Regions from separate parts of the Homo sapiens genome. Here all the other regions are linked to region 2. The links are contacts of gene promoters, found by promoter capture Hi-C in human tissues and cell types (Jung and others, 2019). All regions are on one chromosome and are shown on one strand. The core of a region is centred on a gene start or on the middle of the fragment in contact, and the rest is flanking DNA. Distances in the headings are between cores, read along the strand shown.

Region 1 (2,700 bases), core at 137-2,636, 180 kb after region 2:
GAGTAGTGGGTGCTCCATAAACAGGGAGGGAATTTGAGAACATCCACATTGACCTAGTCTGTCCTGGAGCTGTCCCTTCCTTGGCAGTCAACAGGTACTGGGTTAATGAGCACAGGCTGGTGATTCACCCTGCAGGAGACAGAGCGTTGGTCACGTTTCAGATGAAGCAATTGAACGGTTAGTGCTGATGGAAAGGCTTGTGGTTAGAGTCAGCCCCAATTGGCACATTTTTTTAATGGGCGCCAAAAGCTCCAGGGTGATCCCACAAAGATGTGGTCTTATATCGTGTCTTCCTCCAAGCTGTTGAGTCTTCGTAGACGTGATCTCATCGCATAGCTCCCGAAGTAGGCGGTGGTGGGAGTCTTATCTCCTGTCCCAGGTGGGGTCAGGAAGCACTTCCCTTCTGAACCACCGCTGCCTTCTCTCTGCAACTCTTCCAGGTTGTAAACACTTGCCCTTTCTGGTAGTCCAGGCGCCACTTTAACAAACAGGTCTGTTCTTATTACCATTTTCCAATCTGTCACTTCATGTCCCATGTCCCACATGGGCAGGCAACATGGCCTGCCCATGTGGCGGCACCTCCCCAGGCCTTCCACCTCGTGCTCCTCTGCAGCCCCTTGCCTGTCCCTGCCATCTTGCCATGCCCACGCCTGCATTGCTAAGAACACAGTTTACAGCCTGTGTTTTTTGTGCTGCCATTCTGCTGGCATATGGCCAGGACTGGAAAGCTTGATTCAGTATTAGACCATCATATATGGACAATAAGTGCTTAATTTGTTCTAGGCACTGTGTTAAGGGGGCAGAAGCAACCATGAGTAACATGGATTCAGGCCCTGCCAGGTTCTTCTTGTCCTAAGGGAACCACAGACACACAGCTGAGTGCGATTCAGATCATGGGCACCACAATGCCCTATCCAGAGGTGGGGGACACTCAGTGCTGCATCTCTCTCTGCGGAGTGGCTCTGTGACCATGGCCAGGCTTCCTGCTGCAGAGCAGCCCTGCACGGCCTCCCCCACTGTCCGGGGTCTTTCTGTATCTCCACCCCCCCATTTTTTTTTTTTTTTTTTTTTTTTTTGGAGATGGAGTCACACTTTGTCGCCAGGCTGGAGTGCAGTGGCGTGATCTCGGCTCACTGCAGCCTCCACCTCCCAGGTTTCAAGCAATTCACCTGCCTCAGCCTCCTGAGTAGCTGGAACTACAGGCACACACCACCATACCCAGCTAATTTTTGTATTTTTAGCAGAGACGGGATTTCACCATGTTGGCCAGGATGGTCTCGATCTCTTGACCTCTTGATCCACCTGCCTCGGCCTCCCAAAGTGCTGGGATTACAGGCGTGAGCCACCACGCCCAGCCATCTCCACCCCTTTCTTCTCTGCTGTCTGGGTAACTGTGGACTCCTTTCCGGAGCTCCCCGTTCTACATTTTCAGTTTCCTCCTGCCTGGTTGCCCTCCTCGTTGACCTTCAGAGTGCTCAGCCTTTCTTCTTCTGCTGAAGCCCTTTTTGTGGCCTTTGCCTGTTTTTGCCCTTGTCCCACAGCCAGCCTCAACGGTGTTCTTTTCTCTCTGCTCACCCTCCCTGTTTGCCTACAGCTCTGCGGAGCTGTCCTGAAAGGTGAAGGGGGCGCCTTCATCAGAGCCTCACCGCCCCGCGCCACTGGGCTGCATCTCTTCGGTACCCTCCTGCCTATTCTGTCTCCCCCATCTGAGTGCCTCCAGCTCTGCACCCACAGCCGCCCCCAGCCTGACCTGCTGATGCCGTATGTCCCAGTTTGAAAGCTTCCTCGAATGCCTGCAGACAGGAGCAAAACCCTGGAGAGCCTGGCCCCCATCTGTGGGTCCATCCCCCCATCTCCACCTACCCTTGCGTGCTGCTGCCATGGGCCCATCTTTCCCCAGGCTTCTGCTCTGGCTGTCCCATCTGCCAGGAATGCCTTTTCTCTCCCAGGGCTCTCCACCTGCCCAAAGTCTGGAACAGCTAGCCATGCCACCACCTCATCTTTCGGGTGGAAGGAGGCTTTCTCCTGTGGCCCTCATCCATTTTACCTGCCCTCTCCCGTGGTGGCCACCAGTCCCTGTGTTCTTCCCACAAGCAGTTTGAGCTACCTGTCCTGGACCGGTGTGGCTCCATGGGCCCCTGTTTTGTCTCCTTTCTTTCTTCTACGAGTCAGATCTCTAAGGGCCAGTCCTCCGCTGCTATAGCCAGCATGGGGCATTGTAAACAGTAGGCGTGTAATATATGACTCTTCGGCAGCTGCACCCTCTCCCTGGGGACAGGTTTCCTAGTCCCAGAGTTAGCCTGGAGGTGAGCTGAGGTTAAAGCCAGGTTCCCTGACTCCCACAGTTCTTCCCCTTAAATGTTTCTAGTTTTAGGTTCATCCTGAACTCACCAGTCCAACCACAAAAGTTTTCTGAGGAGAAGCAGAATTTAAGTCTCTTTCAGGCCCATCATCAAAATTCCCATATGTCCTTGACATAAGGCTAAATAGTCTATGGTGTGGCTTGTGCTAGGCTTTTGCCATCAGGTACCTGCAGGGCACACAGCCACCTGCACTCATTCTGAGGGTCTCCTGCAGCATATCGCAGGTTCTCAGCAGTACAGAGGCGAAGTGTCCCAGCACAGTCCAGCACGGAGTGGGGATGGGAGTCTTTGGTGGCTTTGTTTTAGGATGACATGCACTTACCTCTCCTTTACTTCC
Region 2 (2,754 bases), core at 191-2,690:
TTTATTTTTCTTTTTTGAGATGCAGTCTCCCAGGCTGGAGTGCAGCGGCATGCTCTCGGCTCACTGCAACCTCCGCTTCATTGCAACCTCTGCCTCTGAGGTTCAGGCGATCCTCCCACCTCAGCGTCCCAAGTAGCTGGGATTGCAAGCCTGCACCAACATACCCAGCTAATTTTTTTTGTATTAGTAGAGACGGGTTTTATCACCTTGGCCAAGCTGGTCTTGAACTCCTGACCTCAAGTGATCCGCCCGCCTTGGACTCCTAAAGTGTTGGGATTACAGGCGTGAGCCACCGCACCCGGCCTCTTTTACTTCGCTTAAATGTCCAATTTTAGTAGTAAAATCCCGGAAAATGTTTTTAGGAGTATGTTTAACTGAAAAGCTCATATTTTCTTTCATTTTTGGGCAATTCTTAAGGTAAGCAAACTAATGTTGCATGATAAAGCCCCCATCAAGTATCTCATACTTAAGCAAAGACCTCAAATCATTGTGGCTTTATTGCAGCTTTCCTTCAAAATATCATCTGTGACTGAGGAAATCCCTATCTTCCTATCAGACTAATGAAACCACAGGACAGCAATTAGACTTTTAAGTATTGGGGGTTTAGAGCTCTAGATATTCGATATGCAGACTACTCATGTTTGTTTGTTTTAATAAAGACTGGTCCAAAGGCTCATTTTCACACAAGCTACAGTTTTTCAGTTCCAGGACCAGGTAAAGATGGTCAGCTCCGTGATCCATAAAATCCAAGGGTGACGACTCAGGATTAGGACCATTTCTTGGTGACATTGAGATGGTCGAGCTGGTCCGCAATGAATCTATGCGGGGGGAACTTGGAAGTGGCGGCCGCCTTTATGGCCTCGAAGGCCTCCCTCCTGCGCACCGCGGCGTGGCCGCGCTCCTGCTCCCGGGTCATGTAGGGCATGCTCAGCCAGTAATGGTTCTCCGCCTCGATCTCCAGGCGGCGGATCATGTTCTGCTTGGCGCGCAACGACACGAACCGCGGCCGCCGGTGCTTCCCGATCCACTGACGGCCGGGAATGCGGCCGCGCCAGAGGAGCGCAGTCAGGAACATGGTGCCTGCGGAAGAGAGGGACGGGCTTTGCGGAGGCGAACTGGCGCGGCCGGACCTGGAGAGAGCAGCGGGCGCGCGCTCCAGCTCACGCCTACGGGAGTTCCCGCACCGCCTCCCCTCCAGAGAAGCGGGGAGCCCAGGTAAGGCCAGCAGGCGAAGAAGGAGCTCCCTAGAGAACCGAATTCGCACAGCTACTCACCTGCCGCGCTGCTCAAGACTCTGCGTCTCCGCGGCCGCCAGCAGACGCCGTGGCGTAAGCGCACCCGTCTCGCGGGGTCTCCTGGGGCCTCGGCGAGAGACTTCGGCTCTCGCGAGAGAGGACTGCGCCTGCGCAGAGCCGAGGACGCGTCCGGCGCCGAGATTCAAACTAGTGGCGGGAGGCTGTGAGCTGAGCGGTGGGGTCTGCGTACGCCTGGAGTCCTTCCCCGCTGTGCTCAGCATGGACCCTATCCGGAGCTTCTGCGGGAAGCTGCGGTCTCTGGCCAGCACGCTGGACTGCGAGACGGCCCGGCTGCAGCGAGCGCTGGACGGAGAGGAAAGCGGTGCGTGAGGCGGGCGGCCAGGGCACGGTGCGTGGGGTGCGCCGCGGGCGGAGGGGCGTGGCGAGTGGACGGTATGTCCCACGGGAACCGCCAGGCACTGACGGCGTGGACGGCTGCCACCGAGGCGCAGGGCGGGTGCTGCGCGTCTCACTGCTCGGCGTTTGGCGTTAGCGTAGCTCCCGGGCCTGTTTATGGTTTATTCCTAGGAACCCTTGTCGCGTGTCCGTTTTAGACCCATGTACAACCCCACGGCTCTCTTGAGATAATGAAAGTAGCACTATTACGTTATAAACAGAGACAGCAGCACTTAAGAATAAGAACCTAAATTAACAGATTGAGCTCATAATACATATACTAATTTATACGTGATATGCTTTCGTCACATACAATATGTGTGCTTGTCAGTAAAATACCATGTAAACCTAAACAGTTTCTCTTAGAATCAAGCTATTTAACGTTCTTTACACAATACTTTACACATATAGTGACTTTTTTCTCACTCACGTGGTCCACAGTTGCAGTAAACCTCTGTGTTTTTCCCGCTAAACCATGTTGCCAACACAAACACTAGTACTCAACAGTGCTGGGGTTTAAAAAAATATGTGTATATAAATAAAGCAAAATTCACCATTCCCCTTTTTATTAGAGATTTTTTAAATTGTTGAAAAAGTAGTTCAGATTTTGGAATTATTTCATAAATGTCATAATTGTAATGTGCTTTAAAATATTACACCCTGCAGACTACTTTTACTTTAATTATATAATGAATGATCTCCAGTCACTTGAAAATGTCTATTTCTGCCCGGCGCGGTGGCTCACGCCTGTAATCCTAGCACTTTGGGAGGCTGAGGCGGGCGGATCACAAGGTCAGGAGATCGAGACCATTCTGGCTAACACGGTGAAACCCCGTCTCTACTAAAAATACAAAAAATTAGCCGGGCGTGGTGGCGGGCGCCGGTAGTCCCAGCTACTCGGGAGGCTGAGGTAGGAGAATGGCGTGAACCCGGGAGGCGGAACTTGCAGTGAGCCGAGATCCGCCACTGCACTCCAGCCTCGGCGACAGAGCAAGAGTCCGTCTCAAAAAGAAAAAAAGATTTGGCCGTGCACGGTGGCACACGCCTGTAATCCCAGCATTTT
Region 3 (2,700 bases), core at 107-2,606, 160 kb before region 2:
TGCCGAAGTCCCTGCTTGGCCTCTGGGCTCCCTGGCCTTCTGAGGTGACGGGGAGGCTCTGAGCCCACACGTGGTCTCTCACAGGCTTTGGGGCTGCATTCACAGTTTCTCAGTTTCCCTGACAGTGGGGGTTCACTGAGATGTTAGGGACCCCTGTAGTGATAATATCCGCTATGACTTATGAGCGCTCCCTACCTGTCAGCCACAGTCCCGGGAGGAGCAGCCTGGGTTCCTGCTGGGGAGAACCCCTTGAGCCAGCGTGAAGGCTGTGACCTTCCCAGGTCTTATGGGCGGGGATTCCTCAGAGAGACTCGTGCCTTGCTTCACTTGAGGCCTGAAAAAGCTCCTGTTTGTTCTTTGATTTGGGAGGGGGCGGGGGTTGCATTTTCCTTGTTTTTTGCTTTGTTTCCGTGCATGTATAGAATTGAGCCAAATGGAATAGATGCTTTAAACTCTGAATGCATTTTGCCATTGCTGTTTAAAAAGCTTGTTCTCGTTTAAATTCACGTCATCAGTGAATGAGAGTGTTTACCTCACAATATCCTCACCGGTTTTATATATCATGCTTTTCAAATTTGTGCCAATTTTAGAGTGGGAAAATGGTTGTGAATGTGAACTTATAAAGGAAATAATTGTTGGCTGTTGTGAAAAATGAATATTTGTGTTCATTTCCTAAAAACTAGAGTTGGATCCCTAAGAATACCCAACATTGTCAAACAACAGCAGGCGGGCCAGGTGCGGTGGCTCATGCCTGTAATCCCAGCACTTTGGGAGGCCGAGACAGACAGACCACTTGAGGTCAGGAGTTCGAGACCAGCCTGGCCAACACGGTGAAACCCCGTCTCTACTAAAATACCAAAATTAGCCAGGGGTGTTGGCGGGCGCCTGTGATCCCAGCTACTCAGGAGGCTGAGGAAGGAGAATCGCTTGAACCCAGGAGGCAGAGGTTGCAGTGAGCTGAGATGGCGCCACTGCACTCCAGCCTGGACAACAGAACAAGGCTCTGTCTCAAAACAAAACAAAAAAACAAAAAACAACAACAGCAGCCACCTGCTTCTTGAGCAGCCTTGAATGTCTGTTCTCCTGTAAGCTCTGGTGAGGAAAATCCTCTCGGAATTTGCTGCCGTCCTCCCCTCTAGGGCTGGGACATAGGATGAGTACTCCAGGCTGGATTTAATAGAGATGCAGTTGGATATCTGAAACATGGACTCCAGCCGGAGGCTAGCACACTCTGTCCTGCCTTGGAAACTCCAGAACTAGAGTTTGGGGGTGAAGTCAGCACAGTTGACACAGTTGTCAGGGGAGGGGGGTTGGTTGGCTGTGATTCTGGGCCACTGGGGACACTTGGGAAGGTTGGCTTTGCTATGCTGCAGTAGGAACTTCTTGGACACGCAGTCCCCAAGGTTTGGATATTCCCTTGCTGGGCTACATGCATCCAGGATGAGCTAAACCCTGGTCCCACCTGCTCTGACCATAGCCCTCTCTGGAGCCTCTTCCAAGCCTCAGTGCTACTGGGTGGAATTGAAGGAGAGACCCTTTTAGGCTTGAGGAAAAGGACAGTCACTGGATAGCCAGAGCTGTGGAAAATAGGGACAAGGCTTGGCCAGGCAAAGCCATCGATTCAGGAGAAGGCAGGAGAAGCTTGGGTCAGGTGGGGCTCCAGAGGGGCTTCTTGCCCCCAGAGGGGCCTTGGACTACAAGGTCCCAGAGCTCCCCTGATTCCAGGATTCTGCAAAAGAGTGAACCAAGAACAACCTAGAGCAAACGTCTCTGAATCAAAAAAGGGACAGCACCTCGGGGCACAGAGGTGGGCATAGAGGGAACAGGCTGTTACGCACCTGTGTGACCCCAGGCATGTCACTTAACCTCTCTGGGCCTAACTTCTTCACCTAGAAAATGACAGTTAGGGCAAACTCTGAGGAATGATTTTATTTTGGGATTTGTGCATGCAGCCAGGTCTATGTGAGCCATAAAGATAACTCTTCCCTCTCTGCATCTTCCAAACCTACCAAAGAACCGAGGCTGACAGAATAGAAACGGGGACGCTGAGGAGGTGGGACTGGAGGCGTCCTCCTTCCTTTCTTGGTATGGCCGGAGCTCCCTCTGCCTCCAGACAGGCCACTCCTTGGGCTTCCATTTGCACATCTTATCCCTTTGATGATAGAACATGCCCTACCTGCCCGCAGGTTTGACAAGGCAAACATTTGGTTCCGTTTATTGGGGTAGCTCAGGTCCACTGCTTCGTAGGTGTGATTTCACTCAGTCCTTCACACAAACCGTGAGGTTGACCTCATGTTCATCCCCACAACACAGATGAGAAAACCAAGGGTTAGAGGACAGGCAGTGAGGGGCAGGCAAAGCCAGGGGTCAGATCTGTTCTGGCTTCAGAGCCTCGACTCTGTCTCACAAATAGAATATTTTCTTCTAAAAGTCATAGCACTGTCTTTGGGGTGGGGTGGGGCCACGGATTTTCTTGTCGAAAAAGATCTAGAGCTCTCATATGGAAATGGGTCCACAGGGGCAAGGAGCCTGGCCAGGAGTTGGAACACTGATGGATGGATACTTTTGGAAGGTGCTGGGAATGGGCACGCTGTCAAAGTCACTGGCCACTGCTCTCACCTGTACATGGTATTGAGTACTGGTCCACGTACTCAGCCAGTTCCTTCACAAGTCTGCGAGAGTGGGCACATACCTGAAGAA
Region 4 (2,700 bases), core at 72-2,571, 130 kb before region 2:
TTCCCGAATGCTAGTGAAACGTAGATAGTCATTACCCATCAAAAAACACTCACCAAGAAGGGCCAGACTCCCACACATGGATCCCAGAAGTCAGGGAGAGAGTGAGTGTGGAGGCCTACCTCCTCCCAACCTGCTCACCCACGGAGCCACTCCATGGCAAAGGAACAGTAGCTCAGAGGCTGCCCGCACTGCCCCCACTGCAGAGGTTTAAGGAAATCTCCCAGTAGTATGTTTTATGTTGGAAGACCCTGAGATAAAGCCCATACTTCAGTCTGTATTTGTCCTCCCACAAAATGAAGAGTGCTTGTCCATGAGACCAGCCCACGTCTAATTCGGCAGGACACAGCATGCAGAGAGCCTCGAGCAGGCAGCCCACTGCTGACTCCTTCCCAGGGGCCTTTCCCCGAGAGGCAAAGCTTTCTCCCAGGGAGTCCCCACTTTCAGCCCTGTCAGCATGCCCAGTGTCTGCACTCTGCAGGGCCCCGTTCTGTCCCATTACGCAAGTTGGTTTTCAGCGGCTATGGGGAAAGTCACACACGATTGTGCCAAAGTGAACAAATGTTGGCGACCTGGGGAAAAGCAGCAGCTGCACATCCTGAAGCGTTGGGTCTTCCAAGGAAGCCTCGTCTAACCAGAGAAGCCATCACTCTCCTCCTCCAACAATTTCTGGCATATGAAATTGTCTTATCGTGTTACCCCCTTTTCCCTGTTGTAAATCCACGCTGGCGAGCCCAGGGCTCTCCCTAGCTCTATACACTGCCTGGCATGGTGCCATGCAGCTAAGTGTGTTGGAATACAGCGCTGTCCACCATTCAGTTATTTTAACAAGCACTATGGAGCTCTTATAAGTGGCTTAAAAACACTCACATTTACCCCAAAATCACTTTAAAATAATTCACTCCATCACAGCCTCAGCCAGAGCCTGCTCCAGCTCTCCCACAGACTTTCACAGCCTCCCTAGACTCCCCTAATTCCAACTCAACAGGGACCACAAGGACACTGTTTATAGAGCGTTTTGGCTTCTCGCCCCGTGGCCCACAGCCATTGATGCAACAGCAATTTAATCAAGCGATAATCTAGTAAGTCCAACTTGCCACTAGGACACTAAAAAGCCCTTATTTAAGGTAAGTGATAATGGTGATGACAAGAATCCTGGGTGTCTGTCATCTCAGATTATCAAGTGACACCTTTACATTGATCTCATTTAACACTCACAAGGACCCTGAGGCAGGGTTAACTTTATGACCCCATTTACAGAGAAGGAAATGACTGAGAGAACAGACAACCAGCCCTGAGGCCCAGTGCCTGCCTGCAAGGTGAGCCAATGGCCTGTCCTGAGACCTCCCTCCGGCCACCCCTGGTCACACACACCTCCCACCCTGCTGGGCGGGGGACAAGCACTATGGACAAAACTGCCTACGGCACAAGTCCATGAAACCGGATCACCCAGGACTTGGCACGGAGGTGGGGAGGGGAACAGCACATACTTCTCTACCATGGTGCCAATACTTCTACAAGCTTCTTCTGCGACTTCCCTGAATGCTGGCTCAGGGTGAGCGATTTTCACAAAATCAGCCTAATAAAGGGGAAAGACGAAACCAAAAGGGAATTTGATGGGAAGCTTTCTTCCAGGATCTGGGGGTGAAAATGAAAACTGGGTTTTAAGATGTGCCATTGGCTTGGCCTATGCATTTCCATTACTGACTTTTTCCTAAGCGAGTAAAGCAAAGCAGCTGCTTTCTGAACATTTATTTAATTCTGTTATTCCTTGAAACCAAGTTTGTTTCTTTCCAAAAAAAATAATTTTATTAACTTTGTTTCAGAAAAGTTTTTCTCCTTCAAATATAAACACCAAGCAAATTCTTCCTAACCCTTTATTAAATCAAAAGAGCAGACACTGGTTTCAAATATTCTACAACTTTCTGGCTAAAATTCTTTGCAGTATGGTTCTCACAGGTTAACCTAGCTCCAAAAAACAACTCTTAGAGGCTTGTTTTCTTTAACTGACACATAGTATAGTTTCAAAACTCATTTAACTACACTTTAGTCTTTAACTACATTCTAGTCTTTGTGCAGAAAACAAAGGCACAGTCTCTTTAGTCCTTTTAATAAAATATGAGTTCAGTCTCCATGTAATACTGTGTACAACTACTACTGCTGCTGCTACTTAAGTCATTAGAAATTAAAATGAGCAACAATTTTTTTAAAAAGATAAAATGATGTAAAACTAAATTTTCGTTTTCATGTCAATTGTAACAAAAAGCAGAGAAACTACAAAACACTACATATTTTATTTGCCAAGAAGATGTGTGACTATAACATGAAATAAAATCACCACAAGGTAAAATTTCCTGATTTTATTATCAAATAGTTTTTAATGCCAAAACATTTAAATCCATAGTTTGGTATATTTGTTGTAAGAATTGGTAACGATAAAATAACATTAGTACCAAAGTATCTGAAAAATGAGTTACATAAATTTACATTTTTTTTTTTACAAATTACTAATCTACATGTGAATTTATAATCAATATTAAAATTCAAAACACTAGCATGCACATTAACAACTGATTTCTAATAGTGATGAGGAAAACAGTTCTGTTACGTAAAAACTGTGTTGAAAACAAAGAAAACAAAATGACTATTTAGTGAAAAAGTTTATAAGACGATTGCCTTATAATAGTACCAACATTACTGGTA
Region 5 (2,700 bases), core at 80-2,579, 150 kb after region 2:
CCCCTCAGGTGCCAACCAGAAACTCTTCCTCACTCATGACCATAATTTTTTTTTTTTTTTTTTTTTGGAGACGGAGTCTCACTCTTGTCGCCCAGGCTGGAGTGCAGTGGCATGATCTTGGCTCATTGCAACCTCTGCCTCCCGGGTTCAAGCGATTCTCCTGCCTCAGCCTCCCTAGTAGCTGGGATTATAGGTGCTTGCCACCATACCCGTCTAATTTTTGTATTTTTTTTTTTTTTTTTAGTAGAGACGGGGTTTCGCCATGTTGGCCAAGCTGGTCTCGAGCTCCTGACCTCAGGTGAGCCACCGCACCTGGCCCCGTGACCATAAATTATACCTCATTAAAGGTGTCTTACAGACTTCATGGGAGTAGCAAGTAGTAGATCAGCCATAAAGGAATACTGATTATAATTGATAGTAACCTGTTAAATATATAAAAATCAATGAATCAAAAAACAAAACCAGGCAAAAAGTTATGGGGGAAGCCTGGTCTGCAGGGCTGTACATAAATGTGCGTGTCTCTGGGCCTGGCTGAGCCTGTGGGGACAGCCCCAGGCCATGCGTGGCTTTGGAGGCCTTGAGATGGGGCTCATCTCAATTGAGGTGTGCAGTGAGTATAGGATACACACCCGATTTGGAAGACATAGTGCAAAAAAGAGAATATAAAATGTCAGTATTTCTAACATTGCTTACTTGTTGAAATGTTAATATTTGGATGTATTGGGTTGAAATATACATCTTTTAACATCAGTACTTTTTTTTTTTTTTTTAATGTGGGTATAAGACAATGGAAAATTCCACATGTGGCTCGAGTTACATTTCTGTGGGACAGCACGGTGCTGGTCAGTGATGACCGTCAAAGTGAGATGTCATCCGTGAGGCGCTATGCAGGAAGAGCTCCCGCAGGGCCATACTCAACTTTTAGATATGCCCTGGCGAGAACCGCCACTGAACCCCACTGAAAGTCCAGCCAACCTAAAAAGGGTTAACTTTTATATTATTTATTATCATTTATTATTATTATCATTCAGAGTCTCACTCTGTCGCCCAGGCTGGGGTACAGTGGCGCGATCTCGGCTCACTGCAACCTCCGCCTCCCAGGTTCAAACAATTCTCCTGCCTCAGTCTCCTCAGTAGTTGGGATTACCAGGCATGTGCTACCACACCCAGCTAATTTTTTTTTATTTTTAGTAGAGATGGGTTTCACCATGTTGGCCAGGCTGGTCTTGAACTCCTGACCTCAAGTGATCCCTCCCCCTCAGCCTCCCAAAGTGTCTGGATTACAAGTGTGAGCCACTATGCCCGGCCCATTCCTGTTATTTTTCAAGCTGTTTTTTCTTTTTCTTTTTTTTTTTTTTTTTTTTTTGCACAGCGAGACACTTTAACCTTTCTGGGGAAGGTCTGTAAACTCCCTGGGGGGCCCTTCCCGAGGATGCCTGCTTGTTTTCCAAAGCCCCCTGAGTTGTGTTTTGTTTTGTTTTTTCTTGAGAGGGAGTTTCACTCTTGTTGCCCAGGCTGGAGTGCAATGGTGCGATCTCGTCTCCCTGCTACCTCTGCCTCCTGGGTTCAAGCGATTCTCCTGCCTCAGCCTCCTGAATAGCTGAAATTATAGGCATGCGCCACCATGCCCAGCTAATTTTGTATTTTTAGTAGAGACGGGGTTTCTCCAGGTTGGTCAGGCTGGTCTTGAATTCCCGACCTCAGGTGATCCACGCGGCTCAGCCTCCCAAAGTGCTGGAATTACAGGCGTCAGCCACTGCGCCCGGCCGAGGTTTGTTTTTTTTTTTTTTTTTTTTTTTTTTTTTTTTTTTTTAAAGCCAGTCATAGAAAATGTGTCATTTGGTGGACCTCCCTCCCATCCTTTTGAAATCCTAAGACCTTGCTGTGTTATTGACCATCAATCTCAGACACTGTCTGGGCTCTCCGGCAGCGTGGAGAGTCCTGGCCCCGCCTCGAGAACAGAGGCCAAGGACGGGAAGTGCAGGGGTCCGTGTACTTGCAGTTGGGTTCTATTCTACCCACACGGTGTCTTACAAGTTTTTTAAAAATGTCTTTCCAACTTTTAAGAACCAAGAGCTTTCACACTGAAAATTGGGCCTGGAGAGGGGGCGAGCGCCTGTGGTCCCAGTGTGTCAGGAGACTGAGGCAGGAGGATGGGACGTAGTGAGACCCTATCTCTAAAAAGAAAAAAAAAAAGGAATTAAGAAAATTGGGTTTTTAGCATTCCTAGAAATGTAGAAGCCCTGAGCTGCGTCTCCTGTGTGGGAGCTGGTCCCACTCCCCGGCCTTCGGAGCCCTCGGAGCCCGGAGCCCTCGATGCAGCGCTATGGATGCCGGGAGCGATCTTTGGAAAGGAGTCCCCGGCTCGAGCGACACTGCCCCCCTGGGGCTCTGCAGGTGCATGCAGTGGGATTGCTGGGCTGGACTAGAGGGTGAGGGTGGCTTCCCCCACACCCCCTTTCCTGGCTAATCAGAGAAAATCAAAACACCCTTGCCCAAGCGTCCAGCTGGAGAGTGAAGAAGGGGAGTCTATTGCTTATTTGTATATGATGAAGATTATAGATGTGTTCTAGGAAACATGATTATTTCCTTTAAAGCAGGAAATAATCTGCAAAATCCCTTTATGAACATAATGAGGATCTTTTATTCTCTCGCAGGGTGGATAGCTCTGTTTATACCCACTCCAGTATTATAAAAACA

Evidence for each region. The method cuts DNA at HindIII sites, captures the fragments that hold promoters and counts their contacts. A contact is called where the count stands out against the background at its distance.
Region 1: a fragment that was not itself captured here is called in contact with the fragment with the promoter of SKA3 in region 2 in 1 of the 25 tissues and cell types used here (H1 embryonic stem cells).
Region 3: a fragment that was not itself captured here is called in contact with the fragment with the promoter of SKA3 in region 2 in 1 of the 25 tissues and cell types used here (spleen).
Region 4: a contact is called between a fragment that was not itself captured here and the fragment with the promoter of SKA3 in region 2, in 2 of the 25 tissues and cell types used here (heart left ventricle and thymus).
Region 5: a contact is called between a fragment that was not itself captured here and the fragment with the promoter of SKA3 in region 2, in 1 of the 25 tissues and cell types used here (aorta).

The regions. Positions count from the first base shown.
Region 1 is chr13:20,991,412-20,994,111 of GRCh38, reverse strand. All of the region lies in intron 2 of LATS2 (large tumor suppressor kinase 2), which reads left to right. Among named protein-coding and RNA genes, the nearest start is that of LINC00367, 43 kb to the right of the region's middle. The HindIII fragment of the contact is 3,925 bases long and covers 1-2,700 here.
Region 2 is chr13:21,175,238-21,177,991 of GRCh38, reverse strand. SKA3 (spindle and kinetochore associated complex subunit 3) reads left to right here and starts at 1,440. Exons shown (of 9, transcript NM_145061.6): 1 at 1,440-1,617. The coding sequence starts at 1,515. It overlaps MRPL57 (mitochondrial ribosomal protein L57), which reads right to left and starts at 1,334. Exons shown (of 2, transcript NM_024026.5): 1 at 1,275-1,334; 2 at 1-1,080. The coding sequence starts at 1,075. The coding sequence ends at 767. RefSeq lists enhancers at 865-1,184, 1,200-1,922, 2,645-2,754. The HindIII fragment of the contact is 23,400 bases long and covers 1-2,754 here.
Region 3 is chr13:21,339,471-21,342,170 of GRCh38, reverse strand. All of the region lies in intron 1 of LINC00539 (long intergenic non-protein coding RNA 539), which reads left to right. It also overlaps the pseudogene MIPEPP3. Among named protein-coding and RNA genes, the nearest start is that of LINC00539, 4.0 kb to the left of the region's middle. The HindIII fragment of the contact is 3,774 bases long and covers 1-2,700 here.
Region 4 is chr13:21,305,161-21,307,860 of GRCh38, reverse strand. The region is part of intron 2 of LINC00539 (long intergenic non-protein coding RNA 539); the gene reads left to right. It also overlaps the pseudogene MIPEPP3. Among named protein-coding and RNA genes, the nearest start is that of LINC00539, 38 kb to the left of the region's middle. The HindIII fragment of the contact is 3,239 bases long and covers 1-2,700 here.
Region 5 is chr13:21,022,760-21,025,459 of GRCh38, reverse strand. All of the region lies in intron 2 of LATS2 (large tumor suppressor kinase 2), which reads left to right. Among named protein-coding and RNA genes, the nearest start is that of LATS2, 37 kb to the left of the region's middle. The HindIII fragment of the contact is 5,572 bases long and covers 1-2,700 here.